Regions from separate parts of the Homo sapiens genome. Here all the other regions are linked to region 2. The links are contacts of gene promoters, found by promoter capture Hi-C in blood cells and fetal thymus (Javierre and others, 2016). All regions are on one chromosome and are shown on one strand. The core of a region is centred on a gene start or on the middle of the fragment in contact, and the rest is flanking DNA. Distances in the headings are between cores, read along the strand shown.

Region 1 (3,453 bases), core at 632-3,131, 5.1 Mb after region 2:
GTGCTTGGAGTACACCCACTCACTCGCACACACACACACCCTCTTCCCCCAACTCCCAGGAACTTCCTGATCTCCCTGTAGGGCACAGCTCAACTCTGAGAAAATGTTCCTGCCCTTCCCCACCTCCACCTGGCAGTTACAGGATTCTAACCACAGGACCGCTTGATAGTGTCTGCAACGCAGCATTTATCACACAGCATAGGAATGATACATTTGTGTGTCCTCTGTTAGGCTATAAGCTCTCTGGGGAGAAAGTCCATCTGTCTTACTCATATTTGTATCCTGAAGGCTTGGAGATTATCCGTCTATCTATCTATCTACCTATCTATCTATCTATCTATAGATATATATATCTCTCACATGTGCTATACAGTAGGGGGCTTAAACATTTACTGACTAAATGGAAACATACCATCAGGGGTTTACAACAGATGACCACTTACACTGAGCTGTGAAGCCACCTCCGTTCTCTTAGAGTAACAATGAAGAGTATGTAAGCATATCCAAATTTAAGTGCATTTAATTTCTATCAAAAATTCAAAATGAAAAGTGATACTGTAACATTGTTTATTTGATTCTCTCTAAATAGATGTTACTTACTGTCAGTGTGTTCTGGTAATAGGTAATCTTTGCTCGGACAGGATAGGGTTTGTTGCGGAAGTCCCTCTGGCAACTTGCCAAAGCTTGACTAGCCCCGTCACTATAGTGTAAGGGGGAGGAAAACAGACAAGACACTCAGCTTTTCAATATTTAAAAATTCAGGAAGACTAAAATAATATCAAGTTATGAAAAAGTCTTGAGATACTTTATGTTATTTACTCAAAAGACTACACGAGACTACATGAGACTAAGGCAGTGAATCTCTACCCTAGGGCAGAACATGAATCACTCTCTGGGCTTTTAACATGTAGATTCCACTCCAAATCAACTGAAGCAGAATCAAAAGGAGGTGGCCTAGGCACCTCCATTTTAAATAGCTCCATAGGGAGTTATGATGAACTACCAGGGCTGAAACTCACTAAGGCAGAAAAACAGTAAACAGGCACATGGATAAGTCACCTTTCTTACAGTTCACTGGTTAAAAGCTATTTCCTCCACAACAAACACGTGAAAATAAAAAATGTACATACCTAATTTATATACATTATAAATATACAGTCATCCTTCAACATCCATAGGACATTGGTTCCAGGACCCCTGTGGATACCAAAATCCTCAGATGCTGAAGTCCCTTATATAAAATGGCACAGTATTTACATATAACGTGTACATATCCTCTTGTATACTTTAAATCATCTCTAGATTACTTATCACACCTAATATGATGTAAATGCTTTGTAAATAGTTGTTACAATGTATTTTAAAATTTGTATTCTTGTTGCGTACACAAAATAATTTGTATTATTTTTGATCTGCAGTTGGTTGAATCCACAGATACGGAACCCACAAATACAGAGGGTTGACTGTACTGAACACTTAGAATCTCTGCAAACCACTGAGTCTTTAAATAACACAATATTGAAGTTAAATAAGATGGCATAAATTGCTTAATCATCAGCCTTAATAATCAAGGCTCAACTTTATTTTTTAAAGATCCCTTTTAATGAAGATAAAAATGCATGATTAGTGGCATCACTGAGAGCCAGGAACAGTCTATAAACTTTCAAAAGTATATTATTAAATAATTTGAGGTTAAATTAAAAACACATACCATGGTTGAATCTGAGATGGTCCACAGATAGAACTTCAGAACAGAACCAAATAAAATAAAACCTTTCTACCAAGTTACAAAATATGTCTCAAGAAAAAGAACAGTATTTTTTTCATTTGGAAGGTGTTCAGATTTGAAACAATGTATTTCATAAGGATTCCAAAAAGAAGCTGAAATCAGGAGTAATGTAAAAAACACACACTTACTTTTGATGGTCATAATGGATTTGTCCATTGTTGCCTATAATTACTATAGCAGGATTATTTTTCTAAAAAAAAGGAAAACATTTTAAAAAATGTCTTTAATCAAAGCATTCTACATCATTCTTGATGTACTATGAAGTGACTTACATATCTAAGATTCTAGGACTCAAAATTTTAAAATAACCTGGCCTTGGCACTCAAGGAATTACTAAAGTTCTTTAAATTGCTAACAATAACCCCTGAAAATTAATAGAGAAACAACCAGCTGATGGGAAGATCATCAACCTTAAGGCTGTTAAGCCACAAGCTAATGTTTCCAATTTGTAAGTACATTTTGATCTTAACTGTTTTAGGAGAGATCATCAGAAAAATTGGCCCGATCAAAAAGAATGATTAACATATGACCAGACATGAATATGTGAGCTAGCATTAGTCATGGACTTGGATGTGCTTATGTAAGTGTTTAGTAGAGTCTCCTAAACACTACTGTTTTCACCACCTACGTCTAAGGATTTGTATTTATCCATTAAATAGGGCCATGGGAGCAGGGGTCACTGCAAAGTTCTGAGAGTCAGGGCTCTACTATGCCCTCAAGCTGATGTACAAAAAATCATGCACATGTAAATTAAACTGATACATTCCTAGCTATATAAAGACTAATTATCACATTTACCATATAGCTTGGGGAGTTCTGTACTATCAAACTGATGAAAGCATTGAATAAGCTATTATTTCTCACAGCCTAACTCTGTTGATAGATGTATTAAAGTGGATAACAGTCCTGACAATAAATATACCTTTCCATCATTGTCAAAAGAATCAAAAAATATTCCAACACCATTCCACAGATCAGCTGATCCAAACACAGGGCCCTCCAAGCCTTGATTTTCTGCATACCAAATTGCCTGAAAATATGTAATAGGGAACAGTTAGAGGCTAGTGGTATATGCATTTATGCACATTTTCTAAGTTAAAGAAATGATCATACTAGGCCATCAGCTCCAATTCGACCTCTTCCAGTCACTCGAAATGTCACCTCAACTTCCCAGTTCTCAAAGGCCGCTTTTGTCTTTGTCCACACTGAGCCTCTTTGGCTTTTTAAAGATGGTGCTACTCGAATTTGATCTGAACTTGGAATAGCATCTAGAACAGAAATCAGGGGAAAAAAGCTTTAAGTTATAATTAGGTAAAACTCAATGATCATTTCCAAACTGCTAAATATACCTACAGAGACTTAGTAACCTGTACAATAATGATTTGGAAAAAATTTCATGTTGACAGTTTTAACTTTAAAAGTTTAGGGCTAACACCTCCCTTATCAAATAAAAAAAATTAAAGCTACACTCATACACTAAAAATTACAGGGACAGTGGGTGAGAGAAAGGGAATTATGACTTTAAGGCAAACTATCTGAGTCTCATAACATTCTTTTTAAAAACCTTAAAAATTTGTATTTTTAGAAAAGCTGCAACGTATTTTACCTGTTTGCAAAGGTTAGAAAGCTCAAACAGTGTGAAAAGAACATACCACTAGGAATCA
Region 2 (3,289 bases), core at 309-2,808:
ACAAAATTTAGTAAATGTGTATTAAGTCCACGGATGTCAATTGCCATAGGCACTTTCTTGAGCTTACTGGGTCACACAAACTGAAGACATCAGCAGCATGACCACGGGATTGCAAGATTACACTAAGGTGAAAAACCTTGAATCATTTAAAACAGGATGTCTCAACCTCAGCACAGGTGACAATTTGGGCCAGATCATTCTTTGTTGTGGCAGCTTTCCTTTGTATTATCGAATATGTAGCAGCATCTCTGGCCTCTACCCACTAGATGCCAGTATCACACCCTCCCCAGGTGTGAGAACCGAAAATGTCTCCAGACATTGACAAATGTTCCCTGGGGAGCAAATTTTGGTCTAGGAGTCTAAAAACTTAGTACAGTGTGTCAGTTTCAAAAGAGTATATTCTGCAATACCAAGAAGTTCCAAAAAAACTTCAGGCATTCCAAATAGCTGCTTTATACAAAACTTTCTTGGATGAAGTAAATGAAACCTTGTTACTGTAGATAGCTCATTCTTCCACATGTGCATGCTTAACACTTGTGATGATGAATCTGGGACAGGCTGGGACAGGAGCCAACAGTGACTGGGTTTTATAGTTTCGATGAATTACACCTCCTTTTAACCCTTCAGTGGACTAACCATCCCTGCCAGGCTAACCCTTTCTTCGCAAACCATCTTCCCCGACGCCTTCCACATAAGATGCCCTCCTGCGGGCCCTCACCTTTTGACACTGCCTCCCACCGCACTGGGGTCAACTCTCACCCAAGGGTTCCGCCACCTTCCACCACCAAACCAGCCTGTCCCTGCCACATGCCCCCCGGGCCCCAGCGCTCATCCTCTGCCCAGGCCCGCTCTTGACCCCTGACCCCGGCCTGACCCCGCCACCCCCTCCCCGCCCCCAGGGAGGTACCTGAAGTAGTAGACATCGCTCTTGCCAGCACTTAGCCCAGATTTTCGGATCACTTCCTCCTTCTTCCATCCGGGGGGGAGGGCCGGGCAATCCATCCTCTTCCCGCTCTCCGTGGCCCGGGGTCCCCTGGGCCCCGGCCCCGCGCTCCCCGACGGGAAAGGGACCGGCTCCCGCCGGGGGGCGCCGCCGCCACCGCTGCCGCCGCCGCCGCAGCCGCCGCCGTCGCCGCCAAGGCCGCTGCCGCCACTCGGGGGACGGCCGCGGCCCCGGCCCCGGCCCCGTCCCCGTCCCCGGCCACGGCCCCGGCCCCGGCCACGGCCACAGACGCCGCCGCCCCGGCCCGCCTGCTTCCACCGCCCCCGGCCACGGCCGCCGCCCCGAGCGCCTTCCCTGCGCACGCCGCTCACCGGGGACGGGGCGAGCGCGCTGCCCTGGCCCCCCTGCTCTATGGCGGAGTCGCCGCCAGCGCCGCTGCCGCCCGCCGCACTCTCCCCCTCCTCCTGCTCCGGGCAGCAGCGGCCTCCCCCCGGGTGCGCGCGCATCCAGCCCCCTCCCCAGCCGGCGCTGCGCTTCTTCCGTAACCGAGCCCTTGGAATCCCGGAGACCCGCCCCGCCCGCAGCGCGGCGCGCGGGGGACGCGCGCAAGCATCATAGAGCGGGCGCGCACAGAGCGGCCCTCCTGCCCGGGGCGTGGCCCCGGCCACCGCCTCTTAGGTCCTCCAAGCGCTATGGGCGGCCATCTTGTCTCCGCCTTCTCGGGGCCACGCCCCCTCCCGCGCTTTTCCGGCCCCCACTGGGCGCGCGGAGCTGGGAAGGTTGGTCGGGCTAGCCACCAGCTGGGGGTGTCATAGTGACTGTGGTTAGTTTGTTTCAAACGGGGTAACCTCCACCATTATGTGATTTTACCTATGTTTGCTTCCCAATTAATGAATAACAAGCAAAATAGATCTTATATTACATACCAACTCGGCTATTCATTTAAGGGGGTGATAGCCCCTTTTCCCGCCCCTCTGCACAAAGCTTGCAGGGGAGCTTATAATGAAGGAATGAAGCAAAGTGTCCCATTCGCTGAATACCAGTTCCCTCCTGAGCCTGGCTTCAGAGCCATTGACAGATTCTCCTGGAACCTTGTAAGGATGTAGGAAAGGAAATGATAACTTGGAATATGCCCATGAGTCAGATGGGGCTTACCTCTAGATTCTCCTTAGAATGACCAGAATCCCTAAATCCATCTAGAAATTTCCAGATGTCTTTGTCTAATACAAAAATCAGTGGCCTTTTATTTGGTAAATATTCCATTATGTTGAAAGTCCAGCCTAACTTACTGTCACAAGCCTTTAGGAAACTGTGTGGTATTCTTTTCGGTCTGCCAACTTGAATTTTAGAAATGCATATTTTCTATAAGTTGTCGAACACTTATAGAAGTGTGCTATTGATATTCAAGATAATATATTATGAAATATTTGGAAGATTGAAAAATGTAAAGCACATGTTATCAGCCTGATGATAAGCTATCTTGGGTTTCTATACTCATATGCCCTAAAAACTGAGGACCAAGTTTAACGTATAGAAAAAGTTGATTAATATAAAGCAACAAAAATCTAAAATTAATTTGGTTTATCTTTGCAGTATATGCAAACATTAACTCATACACACAAACTTGTCTGTCTCTAAACCTGACCTTAGTCTTCTTTTAATGTCCTTTAGTTGAAAGACACTAATTTGTGGTTTCCTACAAGAAATTTAGAAATGTGAATGTAAAAAATCATCAAGAAATGAGTTCTGAGGAGATCAGTACTGGAGACATTCATTTAGAAGTCATCTGTGGGCCGGGCGCGGTGGCTCACGCCTGTAATCCCAACACTTTGGGAGGCAGAGGCGGGCAGATCACCTGAGGTCAGGAGTTCAAGACCAGCCTGGCTAACACGATGAAACTCCGTCTCTACTAAAAATGCAGAAAATTGGCTGGGCGTGGTGGCGGGCGCCCGTAGTCCCAGCTGCTCCGGAGGCTGAGGCAGGAGAATGGCGTGAACCCGGGAGGCGGAGCTTGCAGTGAACTGGATCACGCCACTGCACTCCAGCCTGGCAGACAGAGCGAGACTCTGTCTCAAAAAAAAAAAAAGAAGTCATTTGTGGCCGGGCGCGGTGGCTTACTTCTGTAATCCCAGCACTTTGGGAGGCCGAGGCCGGCGGATCACGAGGTCTAGAGATAGAGACCATTCTGGCCAACATGGTCAAACCCCATCTCTATTAAAATACAAAAATTAGCTGGGCGTGCTGGCGTGCGCCTGTAATCCCAGCTACTCGGGAGGCTGAGGCAAGAGAATCGCTTGAACACGGGAGGCGGAGATTGCAGTGAGTCGAGATCCCGCTACTGCACTC
Region 3 (3,075 bases), core at 292-2,791, 6.3 Mb before region 2:
TGTGCCAGAGCTAGGCAGAGACAACTGGTGTCTTGAAGAAAAGCAGAGCAGCCAATCTCTAGGCTTGGTTTCTGAGGACTGTCCAGGCCTGTTCCAGCTCCACAATTATATCCTCAGAACAAAACCTCTTTTTGAGTTAGCATGAGTAATCTCTCTGTTCCTTGTGAAAAACTGATAGAAAAAGCAAAATAAAAGAATCTCCCTACAAGTATCTGTATCTTTGGTTCAATTATTCCATTCATAAGAATTTAGCCTAAAAAAAGAATAAAAAATGAAACTTCTGTATAAACAGCAAAAAAAAAAAAAAAAAAAAAAGGGATTTCCAGCATTAGGAGGAATGAGAGTAAACAGTTTCTGTAACACTTTTTTTTTTTGAGGAGTTTCACTCTTGTTGCCCAGGTTGGAGTGCAATGGCGTGACCTCAGCTCACTGCAACCTCCACCTCCCAGGTTCAAGCAGTTCTCCTGCCTCAGCCTCCGGAGTAGCTGGGATTACAGGCACGCGTCAACACGCTCGGCTAATTTTTTGTGTTTTTAGTAGAGATGGGGTTTCACCATATTGGCCAGGCTGGTCTCAAACTCCTGACCTCAGATGATCCATCCGCCTCGGCCTCCCAAAGCACAGGGATTACAGGCATGAGCCACAGCGCCCAGCCTGTTACACTTTCGTTAGGAGAAATGTTTCTTATGAGTTAAGCTGTATTCCTGGGGATCTAAAAGTTTTCTATAAAACCTTTACAATATTGTTTCTTCACTGAAATGAAACTAACTTAAGTTTAGGCCTATTCTGGGTCATCTGAATGGCCACATGACCTGGTATTGCCACATGATTTCAGTGTCCCATGTCTTACAAGAGGAGTTAAAACCATTTTGGAACTAAGTGAACACTTAAAGTTGCCAGCCTTACCTTTGCATGTCTCAGTAACCATGGTTGGCTGACATCTGTCTAATATCTCCGGAGAATTTTTAAATTATGTAATAAAATAACATTTGTTGTAAGTAATGCTGATAATACATCTTCAATTAGTTAAGCTTTTATTTTAAAAACTGAAGCATTTTTAGCCAATATTTTTGAAGTGTAAATAGACTGAATGTAGGCTGACAAGGAACAGATAACAATGTGTTCCAGGTTAAAAACAAATGAAATACAAAAAAGAAAACTAGATTTATAATCAAGTTGCTATCAAAACGTGAATGAGTCATTTACAGAATATACAGATTTCCTTCAATGGTGTGGCAGCAAGTTCTCTACTGAAATAAATTTTCAACATCTGCAAGAATTGAAATCTAAGTTCAGACACTATTTCTAATTCCAGCAATAAGTGATACTTACATAATGCAGATTTCAAAAGAACACAAAGACTATCTTTACAGCTGAATAAGTCAGCTTACCAAATGATACCTTAGTAAAATTAGGATTCTACGATTACTCACCGGAAAGTTTCAATAAGGTAAGAGGTCTAATTATCCTGAACTTGTAGTAAAGCCTTCAAGTTATTAACTCTATATTATAGTTTGACAAATAGCATTCTCTGCACATTTAATTAAACAACAGTGCATACTCTTTCCAGAGTCCTCAACTATGTGGTCCTTTTCTTACTGTTTTTATTCTGACATAAACCCTATCACTGAGTATGTATTACAAAAAAATCTCCAAATCCTTAGAATGACTTTTCATTTTATGTTGTCTTTTGGAACACACAAAGCTGTATTTTAATTAAAAATCTTTTATGCCACAACCTTGCTTTTCAAAGAAATCTTGCTGTGCCTCTAAATATAGTAGGAAACATTTATTGAGTGCTTAAGCCTAAGAGTCCAGTAAGCAAGAATTCCGAATCCTAAGAACCAACTGGGGTTAGGTACTATTATTTACAAATGAAGAATGTGAGGCACAAATAAATACCCTGACGTAATACAGAGAATCCCCTCTAGATATTCTTATGGATGCTTTAGTTTACTTTTCATATTAAGTTTCTAAAAGAAAGATCAGAAATTTGGTTTTAAGAGGTGAGACAGTGATCTAACCATCTCTCATAAGGACAGCCTGTGTATTAAAGCTTACCTTTTGCTAAGTCATAATGCCACTTCTGTCGCATAACAAATTCCTACTAAAGGTCTGATCACACGCATTCTGTTATTTGTTCACACTTAACATCAATGTAAGAAAATATTAATTACTACTGCTTTCTAGTTAGTCTTGATATTTGTCAGGGTGACCCCCCTTCCTTATTTTTCAGATGTGTAGTATTGCTGGTTACTTTAAGTTTAGCATGTTCTACAAAAATCCTATAGGATTTTGATTGGAAGTGCAATGAATTTATATTAGTTTATGGAGAACATATTTATGATATCAAGTACTCCGACTATGCAAATGAGTATTTCCATTTATTTATTATCTATTGATAAGTTGCATATTTTCTCCATAAAAAATCTTACATCTTGTCAAATTTACTTATTTCTCCAGGTATCTTGGTTTTTATTGTAAATGGGGACTTTAATTACACAAAAATATTACACTCAACACTCATGTACTTTCCATCTAGCTGTCATATCTTAGCATTTTGCAGTACTTGATCAGACATAAGAAATAAGATACGAATACAGCTAAAGCCCCCTATGTATTCCTCTTTGATAACATTTCCCTCCCTCTTGCTTCTCAGAGATTATCACTATCCTGATGTTCCCCCATGGTCATTTAACAGTTTTGCTACATATTGTATCCATACAATACAGTTCTGTACATTTTATAAATTTATATGAAAGTGTGATACTGTTCAGTCCATGCTGATACATACATAATCCTAAATCCTAGTTCATTCATTTTAGCTGTCACATGGCATTCCATTTTATGACTAGCACAGTTCACTGTCCATTCACTCTGGATGACTAGTTAGGTTTCCAATTTTCCTCTCTCACAACCTGCTATGAATAGGCTGGTATATATCATTTTATACCATGTAAAAGCTCTTCTAGGGCAGAAAATTTCAAACTTTCAAACTTTTTAACCAAAAAAAGTCCCACAGTGAAAAGTACATTTTACATGCAACCTAGTATATACACACACACTTTGCTAAAA

Evidence for each region. The method cuts DNA at HindIII sites, captures the fragments that hold promoters and counts their contacts. A CHiCAGO score of 5 or more calls a contact.
Region 1: a fragment that was not itself captured here is called in contact with the fragment with the promoter of MBD2 in region 2 in 1 of 17 cell types (non-activated CD4 T cells); the score reaches 7.3 in non-activated CD4 T cells.
Region 3: a fragment that was not itself captured here is called in contact with the fragment with the promoter of MBD2 in region 2 in 1 of 17 cell types (neutrophils); the score reaches 5.9 in neutrophils.

What each region holds. Positions count from the first base shown.
Region 1 is chr18:59,352,602-59,356,054 of GRCh38, forward strand. LMAN1 (lectin, mannose binding 1) reads right to left here. Exons shown (of 13, transcript NM_005570.4): 2 at 2,903-3,057; 3 at 2,712-2,819; 4 at 1,918-1,979; 5 at 601-700. Among named protein-coding and RNA genes, the nearest start is that of LMAN1, 4.9 kb to the right of the region's middle. The HindIII fragment of the contact is 2,400 bases long and covers 682-3,081 here.
Region 2 is chr18:54,223,111-54,226,399 of GRCh38, forward strand. It overlaps MBD2 (methyl-CpG binding domain protein 2), which reads right to left and starts at 1,559. Exons shown (of 7, transcript NM_003927.5): 1 at 908-1,559. The coding sequence starts at 1,449. RefSeq lists a silencer at 1,260-1,649 and enhancers at 2,400-2,942, 2,943-3,289. The HindIII fragment of the contact is 9,949 bases long and covers 1-1,925 here.
Region 3 is chr18:47,912,566-47,915,640 of GRCh38, forward strand. The region is part of intron 1 of SMAD2 (SMAD family member 2); the gene reads right to left. Among named protein-coding and RNA genes, the nearest start is that of SMAD2, 17 kb to the right of the region's middle. The HindIII fragment of the contact is 1,025 bases long and covers 1,030-2,054 here.